5 separate regions of the Homo sapiens genome follow, and all the other regions are linked to region 1. Evidence: promoter capture Hi-C in 16 types of primary human blood cells and fetal thymus (Javierre and others, 2016). All regions are on one chromosome and are shown on one strand. The core of a region is centred on a gene start or on the middle of the fragment in contact, and the rest is flanking DNA. Distances in the headings are between cores, read along the strand shown. Region 1 holds the start of LINC02868 (long intergenic non-protein coding RNA 2868). Region 2 overlaps TTF2 (transcription termination factor 2). Region 3 overlaps TTF2 (transcription termination factor 2). Region 4 overlaps CD101-AS1 (CD101 antisense RNA 1). Region 5 overlaps CD101 (CD101 molecule).

Region 1 (2,690 bases), core at 136-2,635:
CTCATCTGCAAAATGAAGCAGTTGACCTAATAGCCTCCAAAGTTTCTTTCATGCTGATATTCTATAGCAGGCTGGGGCTAAATTTAGATTTAGATTTGTCCAAATGATGGAATGACCTCTTTTCCCATCACTTCCCAGATGTCTACCTGGATTCTGGAGCTCCAGGAAAGAACCCCCCTGTGTTCACAATGGCGGTCCCTGGTGCCTGCAGAACTTAGGACAGGGAATTGGGGAGGTGGGGTGGTTAGGGACAAAACCCAAATATGGACTCCTTAAGAGAAATTTCAACCTTAAAAAGAAAGGAATCTGTCCCAGGCAGCAGCACAGTTGCAATTCAGAGGAAGCTGCGGTTCCGAGTGTAGGGTGGTGGACTCTACTGTAATCAGCCCACCCTAATCAGCCACCCTGAAGTCAAGCAGACATCTGGGGTGTCTCACCAATCTCCCAGCCCCTAGAATGCCAAACAACCCTGCTCTGAGGCCCTGTAATATTATCACATGGGGGTCAGGGAGCTACTCTCCTTCAATACTTCCAAGCAAACTGCCTAGAGCCAAAAGTCCAGGAAGACTAAGCACTTTGCAGATTTGAGTGAGAAATCCCCAGGGACTTCCATAGAAACTGGGAGTCTCAGAAATACCTACCAGGTTGGTTTCCTGAGGCAGTGAGCCAGGGAAGGAGGACTGATGGTGATGTTGCCTCATTTGGATACTCCATGAGCCTACGCAAGTTTCACAAAAGCTTCAAAGGAAAACAAAATATCAAATGAATCCAGTAACAACATTCTGGGGAAAAGGCTACCTGGAAGAGGGACAAAAAGGGATGAGTTTCCAGAGGAAGCCTAGGGAGGATGCCTGATGTCACTGCTGACAGAGGAAGCAGGAGGACTCAGCGCTCTCTGGACTGACCAGGCTGTGATGGGTGTGGCAGGCCAGAACTGGACAGGATCATTAAAACCCTCGGAGAGGTTTTCACTGCAAGAAAGAAGAGCTACCAGGCCTGGAGGGGAATAAGATTGGGGACCCAGGCTGCCAGTGAACTTATGCCCACCCAGAAACTCAGCCGCAGAAAAGTGGTAGGGATTATTACACCAAACTGAGAATTACAGTCTCTGCCTCCTCAGCCCCTGGCAGAGCTGCCACACATGGCAGCAGCACTGTCCTGCCTCCAGGTGAAATAGGAGCCACTGGGATCACCCACCACGCTGCAGGAGCTATGAGGCGTACAGGAGCATGGGGAAGGGATATCAACACACATAAACAAAGTAGTTCCATCCTTGCCTTATGTCTGTCTTTTTTATACCTCCGTAGATGTGGCCAACAAAATTGCTCCATAAATTGGACACTGCCCAAAGAAGTCTTTAACGCCATTCCTGGGTTCTTTGTCAAAACCATGGTGGCTTTTCCTGTCTTCACAGAGCTAAGCCCATTGTTTTGTGGTCCCTGCAGCTGTACCTCTGACCTGGGTGGAGCTGCATGTCTAGGCAGGAGAGGCTTGGGAAGCTAGAGTTGTTGCTGGTGATCTGTTTTCAGCTTGGGGCAGGAGCCAGGCTGGGTGCCAGAAGCAACTTTTGATTAGTCATTAGGCACAGACTTTGCTTCAGCCACACAGCCACCTCATTCCTGCCTCAGGGCCTTTGCACTTGCTGTTGGCTCTGCTTGGAGTCCTCTCTCTTGATCTGCACTGGACTTGTTGCTCCCTACTTCATCAAATGTTACCTTCTCAGAGGACCTTCCATGTCCGCCTCCAGTGCAGGCCCTGTTCACACTCTGTCCACTGCTCTGCTGATTTCCTTATGATAGTTACGGCACTCTACAAGGATCTTGTTTATTTGTTTACATGGCCACCGTCTCTTTCCCTACGGGAACGTCTGGAACCTTAGCTCCACCAGGGTCATCTGAAGGCTCCCAGGGTGACCCACACAGACCAGACCCCAGCCTGCACCCCAGGAGGCTCCTGCTCCCCACATACACAGAGCTCACCTCAGCCTTACCTCGCAGATGAGGAAGACTTTGGTGCCCACACAAATGCCCATGTGTGCCACGGCCCAGACAGCAGTGTTCATGCCTGCGAGAGGTCAGGGCAAGCCTATCAGTCCCATGCTGAGATGCGAGGCCCTGGACGCCTCCCCACCTCAGAGGGTGAAGGGGGGAGGCCTGGACACCCTCTCCATCTCAAAGGGCAGGGGGTGAGGGGAAGGTCTGGCAGGGGAGGGATCTTGTCTCTCATGTTCACTACTGTCCACAACCTCCAGCACAATGCTGGGTATATGATAGATAATATCTGTTGAATGAATAAATGAATAAATGCACACAGCAGCAAGCTGTGTGGCTGCTTATCCAATATAACTGTATCCCTGCGCTTCTCCCTTCCTAACATAACTTCAGTCTGCTTGGCAACATGTCCTATTCATGACCACGTGTTTGCCCTAAGCTGTTCATAGTATTCCCTCTTTCCCTGTGCTAATAACTGATTTTTCAAAAGGACCCATGACTTAGTTCTGACCAAAACCATGAGCAGAAGTCTACTAGGTAGGGCCGGGGGTTCTAAAAGAGGTTTTCCCCTTTGTAAAAAGAGAAGCAGGCACTGTCATATTATCTGGATTAGATCTGCTTAGTACAGCTGTGCCTCACTTCTCACTCTGAGGAGAGTTACCGTGAGGAAAAGTGCAACCCGATGAAGATAGCTAGGGT
Region 2 (2,690 bases), core at 98-2,597, 410 kb before region 1:
TGAACACTGGTGTCTCCATGCTTATCCTATTAGTGCAGGAGAATCTGGCTTCACCTTTGAGCCCTGCTAAAAGCCATTTCATTGAGCAACAGACAATCAGAGCAAGGAAACAACTCAGTGTTCATGAATTGCCATGCTAAATCACTCACAGGATTGATAGAGAAATAAGTCACCTCCCATAAACAGAAAATTTTTTTTTTCTGTTTTTCCTTCTTTTCATTAGCAATTGTTCCAAAAACACTTACTCTGCTAATTTCTGCTAGAAAGAATCACCGTTCTTTCTCTGTGGCCCAGGCTGGAGTGCAGTGGTATGATCTCAGCTCACTGTAACCTCCGCCTCCTGGATTCAAGTGATTCTCCTGCCTCAGCCTCCCGAGTAGCTGCAATTACAGGCACCCAACATCACGCCTGGCTAACTTTTGTATTTTTAGTAGAGAGGAGGTTTTGCCATGTTGGCCAGTCTGGTCTCGAACTCTTGGCCTCAAGTGATCTGCCTGCCTCAGCCTCCCAAATGCTGGGATTACAGGTGTGAACCACTGCGCTGGGCCTGCAATGGGAGTCACTGACAAGGTTTTTAAAGGGCCCAGGACTCTGTCTAGCTGCGGCATGCACAATACTCCTATTTGATCAACATGGCTAAGGCAAAGTCAAACTACATACCTTCCATGAAGTCAATTCTGTCGAGTAAGAAATGCCTTATAAATCCGGTGCTCAGGAATGTTGCACTTTGGAGACAGATGTTCACCATCTGGTTCTCAGCTGCACCCATGCTGCTGCTGGTTCTCATATTCCCAGACCTTGTCCCACAGCAATAACACTAGCACTTGTGTGGCCCTTCATGGTTTTCAAAGCATTTATTACCTCATATCATCCATGCCCAAGTCAGGTGCAATAGGCAGATGTAAAAAGCAAATCCAGCAGCAGTATTGTGACATGAAGGAAGGCTGGTTAACACAGGCAGGACTCATAGTGCAGCACCTCAATTAGACCACTGTGTTGTGGGATGCTGCCCATCGCTAGAAGGTGCAAAGACCCACCTTGTCATACCTAGACTTGACGAAACTGATTTACACTAAAATGAATATGAGGCTGAGACAGATACCAGAATGCCACTTCTGTTAATTCATGCCTGTCTCCCTTAGATGCTAAGCCTCATGAGGACAAAACAAAAAAAACCAAACAAACCCAGCCTAACCCCCAGGGAGGGAAGAGGGGAGACACATATGCAGCTCCACAATGTAATTCATGTAATCCATCCCAGCACTAGGATTTAAGAATGCATGTTTAGTATATTCCATCCCATTAAGGCAGTGGTTCCATTTTTTTCTGCATCCACCTCAAGTCAGTAGCATCTCACGGCTATAAGAACACCTACCCAAGACATAACTAGGTTGCTTTGCTTATGTACAATAACATGAGAAATTAGAAAAGCTGTTTTAAAATACCAGGAGGCATCTACCTTACAGTAGATTACTTGTCAATGGCCTCAATATCTGAAGATTTTAAGTTACAATCCCTGCATCCCTCTCCAAACTAAAAGCCAGAATGCTTGAACCTGAAAGAATTCCTCTCCCCTAAACAATGCTTGATTGGAGACTGACAATGTTCATCTAATACCTTCTAGTTGACATTACTGATCTATCTGGTCAACCATGTTGTAGTATATATATTTGCTATGAAATTCCCAGTGGAGCATGAGATACATGCTAATCCACACATTTTACAGATGAAAGGATTGAGATGTCCAAGGAATCTGCAACTTGCCTAATATCAATCAGCAAATGGCAGAGCCAGGTTTGTACATTCTTGCTGGCCTGGGAGCCACTGCTTCTCAGGTGACTCAATCTTTACCTTGGTATGTCAATCTTATAGCAAAACTTCAAAAAGGCAATGTTACTTCCTTTGCTTCTTGATTTTATCAGAAACCTTATTGCTGCTAAGTTCTGAAAACTGCCCACCTTACAAATGAGGAAATCAGAGTGTAGAGAAAGTAAGGATTTTTTTCTCTCTCTTTTTTTTTTTTTTTTTTTTTGAGACGGAGTCTCGCTCTGTCACCAGGCTGGAGTGCAATGGCGCGATCTCAGCTCACTGCAACCTCCACCTCCCAGGTTCAAGCGATTCTCCTGCCTTATCCTCCCCAGTAGCTGGGACTACAGGCGCACGCCACCACGCTCAGCTAATTTTTGTATTTTTAGTAGAGACGGGGTTTCACCATGTTGGCCAAGATGGTCTTGATCTCTTGACCTCGTGATCCGTCTGCCTCGGCCTCCCAAAGTGCTGGGATGACAGGCCTGAGCCACTGCACCCGGCCAATTTTTTCAACGTTACACACCCAGCTAAGATGAACCTAGAACTAGAGTCAAATCTCAAACGTTCTAGACTAGAATTCTTCCCACCAGGCCATTGTCTTTACCTTTGTAAGCCTTTAAATCTTGTCCTTATAGAAAACTTCTGCTTAAATAGGCTCCGAATGCCTCAGTCCACACTCTGACTGGGTTAACATAGGGTCTTGTTTCCCAACTCAAGGGACAGAAATGTTTCTGTGTTAGAAGAACTGTGATTCTTTCTAGCAGAAATTAGCAGAGTAAGTGTTTTTGGAACAATTGCTAATGAGAAGGAAATCTGAATAGTTTCCTGAAGTATAAAATCTCAAGTGTTTGTTTAGGGTACAAACTGCTATGTAAACAACA
Region 3 (2,690 bases), core at 86-2,585, 380 kb before region 1:
AGAGGTTCTGATTCTCTTTGGACATCTTGACTCTTACCACTTGATTTCTCCTGAGAAGATGCAGATGGTCTTGTAAGCTCATTACCTTGGCACTGTTGAGATTTAATTTCAGAAAAGTCTCTTTTGTGTGTGCCTCCAGTCTCTGCCTCACACTGAATCTCTGCTCCCTCTTCTTGCTTCTTCTCTTGAACTACAGATTGTTTTTTCTTTGGTACCAGGCCAGATGAGAGGTCTTTCTCCATCATTTCAGGCTTCTGTTCTTTCTTTTGATCGAAAAGCTGATCTCCCTTTTCTCTTTGCTTCTTATCAGCCTTCTTTTCCTCACCTTCACCTTTGATGAGCTGTTTCCAGAGAGCTGGTTCTTGATTCTTGTCAAGTACCTTGAATGGATTTCTCAGCCAGTTGGAAGAATGATGAAATGTCTCAGATGCATGCTGAGACTTATTGGATACAGAATGTTCTTTGGAATCAGGATCCTAAAGACAAAATAATTAATCTTCATATAAAATATTAATACAAACTTCGTATCTAGAATGCCTTTCCTTTTCATCTCAACTTTTATTTTATATACAGGGGGTACATATGCAGCTTTGTTATATGAGTATATTGCACTCAGGCAGTGAGCATAGTGCCCAATAGATAGTTTCTTAACCCATGCCCTCCTCCCCTCTCCAGTAGTTCACAGTATCTATTGTTCCCATGTTTATGGGTGCTCAATGTTTAGCTCCTGCTCGTGAGAACATATGATATTTGGTTTTCTGTTCCTGCATTAATTCACTTAGGATTATTCTGCAGAAGAAATGGAAACACAGTAAAAGCAGTCCAATATTTCCTGAACATTCTTGGTACCATTTCCACGTCTAGAAAAGATGACGTGCCAAACCCACAAAGGACTCATTTCTTCACGATACTTTCGAAGCTTGGTTCCTTCTCTGTCCATGATCACTCTTTTCCAGGCCTCAAGGAAAAGTAGTGACAAACCAAAGTGCTTTTACAATCACAATGGCCACAGTGTATACTTTTCAGGAAAAAAACTATTCTCTTAAGATGAACTTTTCCCCAAACCTAAACATTGTCTTAAAACACTTGCTTTGATTTTGGCTTTAGGAGGATTTTACTGTGGTAATCTAGAATCGTAAGTTCAAGCCACACCTCTGCCAAAACAAGTCTTATCACCTCCCTACTTCTAGTTCCTCACGTACTGAATATCTGTAGGGCTTCTCCTATTAGGAGATGCTCCTCCTAGTTCTAACATACTAGGAGCTTATGCTTATACTTAGCTTATACCAGTATCAAGTAGAAATTCCTCTATAAAAAGATACAAGAGTTAGTCAAGGAAATCTATTTTTTTCCTTGAGTAAAAGAATACTGACTACATTTAAGACCTCAAAAAATATTTACTAAGTGAAATAGGATGCAAATAATTAATCTTGATTACGACTAAATGATCCTTTGAATAAAAGTCCCAACAGGGCCTACCTTGCTTAAAGAAAACTATCTTTCGGAGACAGTCTGATGAAGACCAACTCATTTACGTGAACTTCAAGGTATTTTCAGGTGATGCTGCATATTAAAAGTCTTAACACAGCAGGTTTGAAAACAGATGAATAATTCCTACCTGCCATGGAATACTTCCACACCAGCGTTTCCCCTCTGCCTTACTTCTAATGCATCGGAAGAACAATCTAATGAAGTATAAAACACAAATAATCAAGGCTATGAAAATCCATTAGAACAAGAGATAAGCTTATTTTTAATCCAAGAAAACATCTTGCAACTATTTGAACCTGGCTTTGGGAGGTCACTTGAAACCAATTACTTTTATATACACATTTAAAAATTATTTACTGCACAGAACATTTATAAGGGCTAGGAAGTCCAAGAATAAATATGGCATGGTAGCCAGAGAATGCACACAGGTTTATTCTTTTTAGTCTGTAACGAATGACTGAAATAGAAACACTGATCAGCAATGGCTACTAAAATCAGAGAAATGAGAGACAGCCAGACACTGTGTGTCCCTGAAGGGGGGTCACAACACTAGCTACAAAGCAATGTTGCCCCAAAAAAAACCCCAAAACAACGAAGCCAAAACAAACAAAAAACTAACCTCTAGATCCAATTACCAATTTATAGGAAATAGAAACAACAGAAGAAGGCGTAAAACTATACTGTGGAGAATATAACCTTCAAAATCTTGGCAGTGGGAAACGCTATAGGACAAACAACCTGATCCCTTCCACAAATAAGTTACGAGGGAGAAAAAAAGATGAAGGGAAAACTTCAGAGACTTAAAAGACATATTAATCAATTCCAATTTGTGAACCTTATTTGGATCCTGATTTAAACAAATTAAAACTACTAAAAAAAAACTATGACATTTATGAGTCCACTGAAAATATGTAAACCAACTGGTATGTTAAAAGAGTGCAGCTGGATGCAGTGGCACACACCTATAGTCCCCTCTACTCAGGGGCCTGAGACAGGAGGATCATTTGAGGCCAGAGGCTGCAATGTGCTAAGATTGTGCCTGTGAATAGCCACTGCACTCAAACCTGGGCAACACAGCAAGACTCCCTTCTCTAAAACATACAAATATTTTTTAAAAAATAGTTCATATCTTGGCCGGGTGCGGTGGCTCACACCTGTAATCCCAGCACTTCGGGAGGCTGAGGTGGGCGGATCACGAG
Region 4 (2,690 bases), core at 117-2,616, 360 kb before region 1:
GACTAAAGGCCATTTTTCAGAACTTTCAATCCAGTTCTTGCCACTATAGTATTTTTTCTTCTTCTTCTTCTTCTTTTTTTTTTTGAGACGGAGTCTCGCTCTGTCGCCCAGGCTGGAGTGCAGTGGCGTGATCTCGGCTCACTGCAACCTCCACTTCCCAGGTTTAAGCAATTCTCCTGCCTCAGCCTCCCAAGTAGCTGGGATTACAGGCACCCACCACCACGCCCAGCAATTTTGTGTATTTTTAGTAGAGATGGGGTTTCGCCATGTTGGCCAGGCTGGTCTCGAACTCCTGAGACCTCAGGTGATCCACCTGCCTCGGCCTCCCAAAGTGCTGGGATTACAGGCCTGAGCCACTGCGCCCAGCCTATAGTATTTTTATAAAGCATAAATTATTCAGCAATGCATTCAGATATTTAACCCACACATCGGTAAGTGTTTAGGTATTTGCTGTGGTGTAGAGACATGGCTCAACAAATCCAAGACAAAAACCAAAAACCCAAGTCCTGCCATTTTATAAATGACCACTAGGTAGCAGCCTAGTAACATAAAAACCAAACTGAGGCCCACCCTCCTCTGTTTCATTCTTTTTGTTTGAAGATATATAATGGTAATTCAATTTCATTTCATTTCATTTTGTGCCTTTCAAACATATGACTGTTTTCAACTTGTCCTTTGACATAGGCTCGATCAGGATGATACTATAGTGAGAACAAATGTGGTTATAATTTGTAAAGCCAAGAGACTTTACAAATTATTTTGTTATACCAATATTTTTTCAGTACTAGATTCCAAATTTCACTGTTCTTAAAATATTATTCCAAAAGTGGTTCAATGCAGGCTCTTTATCTTCTTCTTTTTTTTTTTTTTTTTTTTTGGTAAATGTACAGGTATTTTTTTCAGTTGGAGTCTTGTCTGTTACCCAGGCTGGAGTGGAGTGCAATGGTAGGATCTTGGCTCACTGCAACCTCCGCCTCCTGGGTTCAAGTGATTCTCCTGCCTCAGCCTCCTGAGTAGCTGGGATTATAGGCTTGTGCCACCACGCTCAGCTAATTTTTGTATTTTTAGTAGAGATGGGGTTTCACCATGTTGTCCAGGCTGGTCTTGAACTCCTGAACTCAGGTGATCCACTCGCCTCGACCCCCCAAAGTGCTGGGATTACAGGCTTGAGCCATCGCGCCCGGCCACAATTCTTTTTTTTTTTTTTTTGAGACAGAGTCTCACTCTGTTGCCAGGCTGGAGTACAGTGGCATGATCTTGGCTCACTGTAACCTCTGCCTCCTGGGTTCAAGTGACTCTCCTGCCTCAGCCTCCCGAGTAGCTGGGATTACAGGTGCCCGCCACCACGCCTGGCCAATTTTTGTATTTTTAGTAGAGATGGGGTTTCACCCTGTTGGCCAGGCTGGTCTCGAACTCCTGAACTCAGGTGATCCACCCGCCTCGGCCTCCCAAAGTGCTGGGATTACAGGCATGAGCCATCACACCTGGCCCACAATTCATTGTTTAAGTAAATTTATAAAGTTGTGCCATCACCACCAGAATCCAGTTTTAAAACATTTCTATCACTCAAAAACTTTCCTCAAAGCTGTGTGCAGTCAATCCCAACTGCCACCCCCAGCTAGTCCCAAGGCAACCTCTGATATGCTTTCTGTCTTTATAAGTTTGCCTTTTCTGGACATTTCATATAATGGAGTCATGTAATATGTAGTCTCTTGCCTCTGTCTTCTTTCACTTACATAATGCTTGTGAGGTTTACCCATGTTGCACATGTATCAGTATTTCACTCCTTTTTATTGCTGAGTAATATTCCATTGTGTTCATTCACCAGTTGGTGGACATTTGGATCATTTTCCCTTTGGAATTATTAGGAATAATATTGCTATGAACATTAATGTTAAAGTCTGTTTTATTGTTTTTGTTTTTGTTTTTTTGTTTTTTGTTGTTGTTGTTTTTGAGATGGAGTCTTGCTCTGTCACCCAAGCTGGAGTGCAGTGGCATGATCTTGGCTCACTGCAACCTCCAGCTCCCAGGTTCAAGCAATTCTCCTGCCTCAGCCTCCCGAGTAGCTGGGATTATAGGCTCGAGCCACCACGTAAGCTAATTTTTATATTTTTAGTAGGGACAGGGTTTCACCATGTTGGCCAAGCTGGTCTCAAACTCCTGACCTCAGGTAATCTATCTGCCTCAGCCTCCCTAAGTACTGGGATTACAGGCATGAGCCACCGCACCCGGCCTAACGTTAAAGTCTTTATATGAACATTTGTTCTCATTTCTCTTGGGCAGATAAACCTGTGAGTGGAATTGCTAGTTCATATGGTTAGTTTGTTTAACTTTTTAAGAAATTGCCAAACCACTTTCCAAAGTGGCTATACCATTTTATATTTCCACCAGCAACGTATGAGGGTTCCCAGTTCTTCATGTCCTCAACAATGCTTGTTATTGCGTGCCTTTTTTAGTAGGTATGAAGTGGTATCTGACTTTTGTTTGAATTTTGATTTTTCTATTGATGTGGCACTCTTTTTCGTGTGCTTTTTAGCCATCATCTTCCTCTTTTTAAATGGTCTTGAAAGTCTTTTTCCTTTAACGTTTGTATGGAACTTAAACCTAAGTTAAAATGACATTAATTGTTATTAATACAAAGACATAAAAAGACATAGTAATCATTTGTATAATGTTAAGTAACAAACATT
Region 5 (2,690 bases), core at 70-2,569, 340 kb before region 1:
CTGTGGGGGTGTTTTAGTTTTGGAGGATTTTAGTTGCCTATGGGACAAAGAGTGCCATGTGGCTGCTTAGACTATCAAAGGTGCTCTAAGTCCCATTAATGAAAGCAGAGCATCCAGGACAAACAAGGTGAGCATCCCAGGGGCATGGGGCTGTGTCTGAGTCACCACAGGGCCCCTTGCTCCTAGCACAGGGCCTGACATGCAGCAGGTACCCACTGGGAACTCACACTTCCCATGCTGTGCTCTGGCCGGAACCGTTTCATATTTGAGGGTCTCTGTTCCCTGAAAAAAACCAGCGTTTGTTTGCCTGGCGAGTAACAAATAACTCTCCACAAGAACATGAGTTTTGATGAAAAGGAGTTTTTTTTTTTTTTTACTTGTCACAAGCAAGGAGAGCGCTGGGAATACTCTCCAAAGCGGTGTCTCTGAAGGAAAGTGACAGGAGGGTTTTATGGGGTGATGGAGAGGGGAGAGAGTGCATTGGTGCATGTAGGGGAGGGGTCCCAGTGGCGCAGCCGCAGTGAGTCGTCCTGCCAGCACACAGGTCACATGTTACGGTCATGAAGCTATAGCTCCCCCTGGGGTAGTGACTTCAGGATGGTAATGAGGAAAGTTCACTTGGGTTCATCTAGAAGTTGCCGGGGTCTGTCAGGAGCTGGTTCCAGGTGACTAGGTCACCACATTCCACACGGGGCTTGGGAAGAAACAGGCAGCAAGGCAGGAAGCTGTAAAACAAGCTGATTGCTCAAGTTGGTTAAATGTCTGCTTTCCCAGGAGACCCTCCCTGTCTGCTTACATCTCCTCTGTGCTATCTCTGTGCTGGATTCAAAAGGGGAAGAGGTGTTTGAGCTAGAAGCTTGAAGGAGGTGTCCATGTGAGCAGAGAGGAGGGATGGGGTGAAGAGTGCTCCCACAGAGGGCTGCAGCAGAGTCCATCCAAGATTCTCTGCCCAGGCTCACTTCTGCTCTCTTTCCCTTTGAATTAAAATACAGGTTTCTAAAAAATAGGGGCAGGGGGTCATCACACTTTCTAAGAGTCTTCTGCCGGGCGTGGTGGCTCACGCCTGTAATCCCAGCACTTTGGGAGGCCGAGGCGGGTGGATCATGAAGTCAGGAGATCGAGACCATCCTGGCTAACACGGTGAAACCCCGTCTCTACTAAAAATACAAAAAAAAATTAGCCAGGCATGGTGGCGGGTGCCTGTAGTCCCAGCTACTTGGGAGGCTGAGGCAGGAGGATGGCGTGAACCCGGGAGGCGGAGCTTGCAGTGAGCCCAGGTCACACCACTGCACTCCAGCCCGGGCGACAGAGCGAGACTTCATCTCAAAAAAAAAAAAAAAAAAGTCTTCATTTCAGCTTTGTTGTTTGTAAAAATATGCTCCCTTACCTGGATGACAAGAAACAAATGTGCTGACATGTTTAAGGAAAGATTTGGAGTATTTTAAATCAGGCTATGAAGGGACATGAGTTTAAGGAACTGGTAGGTCCATAGTAGGAGTGCTCATAGCCACCAATAATCCCCTTAGGAAGGAACTAATTATGTTTGGAGAGGACGTGTGTGCCTGATCAAATAATTAAAACTAAATTGCTCTCCTTGGAAATGCAAATTAACGAGTGTTAAAGCAACTCGGTTGGTCACATAGATAATAAATAGATGTGTTTTCTCAAGTCTTTAGGTGGCACTGATTGATTTCCAATTCTGGCTACAACAGGGCCTGAGCGGCTTTTGAAACAAAGATGAGGGGACTGTAGGCCCAGTGGGGACAGCTGTTGAAAGCTTTAAGCCATTACACCCCACCCCCACCGGCTGCTTTTTGCTACTGAGAATAGGAGACCTTGAGGAACCAGACTTGACCTACTGCTGCCCCAAACCCCAGCCCTGCAGGCGTATGAGGGAACGGTGGCACTGTCAACCCTGCTCCTCCAGACAATACCTTCCCTACCACCCAGTGCTGTCAGGTCAAAGAAAATAAGGCACTGGCTGAGCACCAGGAGCCAGATGGACCTTTTGGTGGGGATATGGAGGTGTAGGGGGAAGCAGGGGTACGAGGCCTTGGGGGGCTGACTGGAGTACTGTTACATGAGTTTTTACAAAGTTTTTGCTCAGCAATTACTTAATAAAAAGTCTTATCAAACAATAAACAAAAAGCCCCAAACTCAGGTTACAAATGTTTTATCATTTTGTCAAAGAACCTGTATTAGTTAAGCACCTTTACACAGAACTTGCTCTTGAGTGGGCCTTTGTAGGTGGGCTGGGAGAAGAAAATTGAATTTCTGCCTCGAAGGAAGTTACATTCTTGTTGTGGGGACAGATTTTAGGTAAACAAAGAGCATGTTACCAATTCCTTTTTCCTTGCTGGCATCAGGTCCTTTCCTACACCTCTCATCTGGAGGAAAATGATTACCTAGAGCAGGTGTGACAAGTGACATAAGAGGGAGAGAGAAGCCCCACCAGGGCATTGCTGTAGGATCTCATTTAGCCCTCCAGAGGCTGTGTGAGGGAGCCTCTTATCTCCTTGCAGCCCAGGGACCTGAACCTTCAAGAGATGTAGGGTAATGATGCTATCTTGTTCCAAGGGGGGATGCGAGAGGTGGATGAGGTAAGACACAAAGGAACACCTAACAGTGCGTAGAACCAATAAGCACTCAGTGAATGCTCCCTCTGATTCCTAGGTAACTTGCCCAAGGCC

What was found. The method cuts DNA at HindIII sites, captures the fragments that hold promoters and counts their contacts. A CHiCAGO score of 5 or more calls a contact.
Region 2: a contact is called between a fragment that was not itself captured here and the fragment with the promoter of LINC02868 in region 1, in 1 of 17 cell types (total CD4 T cells). The highest score is 5.1, in total CD4 T cells.
Region 3: a fragment that was not itself captured here is called in contact with the fragment with the promoter of LINC02868 in region 1 in 6 of 17 cell types (activated CD4 T cells, fetal thymus, naive CD8 T cells and 3 more); the score reaches 7.1 in activated CD4 T cells.
Region 4: a fragment that was not itself captured here is called in contact with the fragment with the promoter of LINC02868 in region 1 in 8 of 17 cell types (megakaryocytes, erythroblasts, M2 macrophages and 5 more); the score reaches 15.3 in megakaryocytes.
Region 5: a contact is called between a fragment that was not itself captured here and the fragment with the promoter of LINC02868 in region 1, in 3 of 17 cell types (non-activated CD4 T cells, activated CD4 T cells and naive B cells). The highest score is 5.2, in non-activated CD4 T cells.

What each region holds. Positions count from the first base shown.
Region 1 is chr1:116,692,807-116,695,496 of GRCh38, reverse strand. It overlaps LINC02868 (long intergenic non-protein coding RNA 2868), which reads right to left and starts at 1,385. Exons shown (of 4, transcript NR_149353.1): 1 at 1,300-1,385; 2 at 642-738. The HindIII fragment of the contact is 15,118 bases long and covers 741-2,690 here.
Region 2 is chr1:117,103,294-117,105,983 of GRCh38, reverse strand. TTF2 (transcription termination factor 2) reads right to left here. Exons shown (of 23, transcript NM_003594.4): 23 at 1-2,690. Among named protein-coding and RNA genes, the nearest start is that of MIR942, 10 kb to the right of the region's middle. The HindIII fragment of the contact is 5,602 bases long and covers 1-2,690 here.
Region 3 is chr1:117,072,656-117,075,345 of GRCh38, reverse strand. TTF2 (transcription termination factor 2) reads right to left here. Exons shown (of 23, transcript NM_003594.4): 4 at 1,619-1,685; 5 at 1-476. Among named protein-coding and RNA genes, the nearest start is that of TTF2, 14 kb to the right of the region's middle. The HindIII fragment of the contact is 827 bases long and covers 922-1,748 here.
Region 4 is chr1:117,053,371-117,056,060 of GRCh38, reverse strand. The region is part of intron 1 of CD101-AS1 (CD101 antisense RNA 1); the gene reads left to right. Among named protein-coding and RNA genes, the nearest start is that of CD101-AS1, 4.8 kb to the left of the region's middle. The HindIII fragment of the contact is 6,290 bases long and covers 1-2,690 here.
Region 5 is chr1:117,034,203-117,036,892 of GRCh38, reverse strand. CD101 (CD101 molecule) reads right to left here. Exons shown (of 10, transcript NM_001256106.3): 10 at 341-725. All of the region lies in intron 2 of CD101-AS1 (CD101 antisense RNA 1), which reads left to right. Among named protein-coding and RNA genes, the nearest start is that of CD101-AS1, 24 kb to the left of the region's middle. The HindIII fragment of the contact is 921 bases long and covers 859-1,779 here.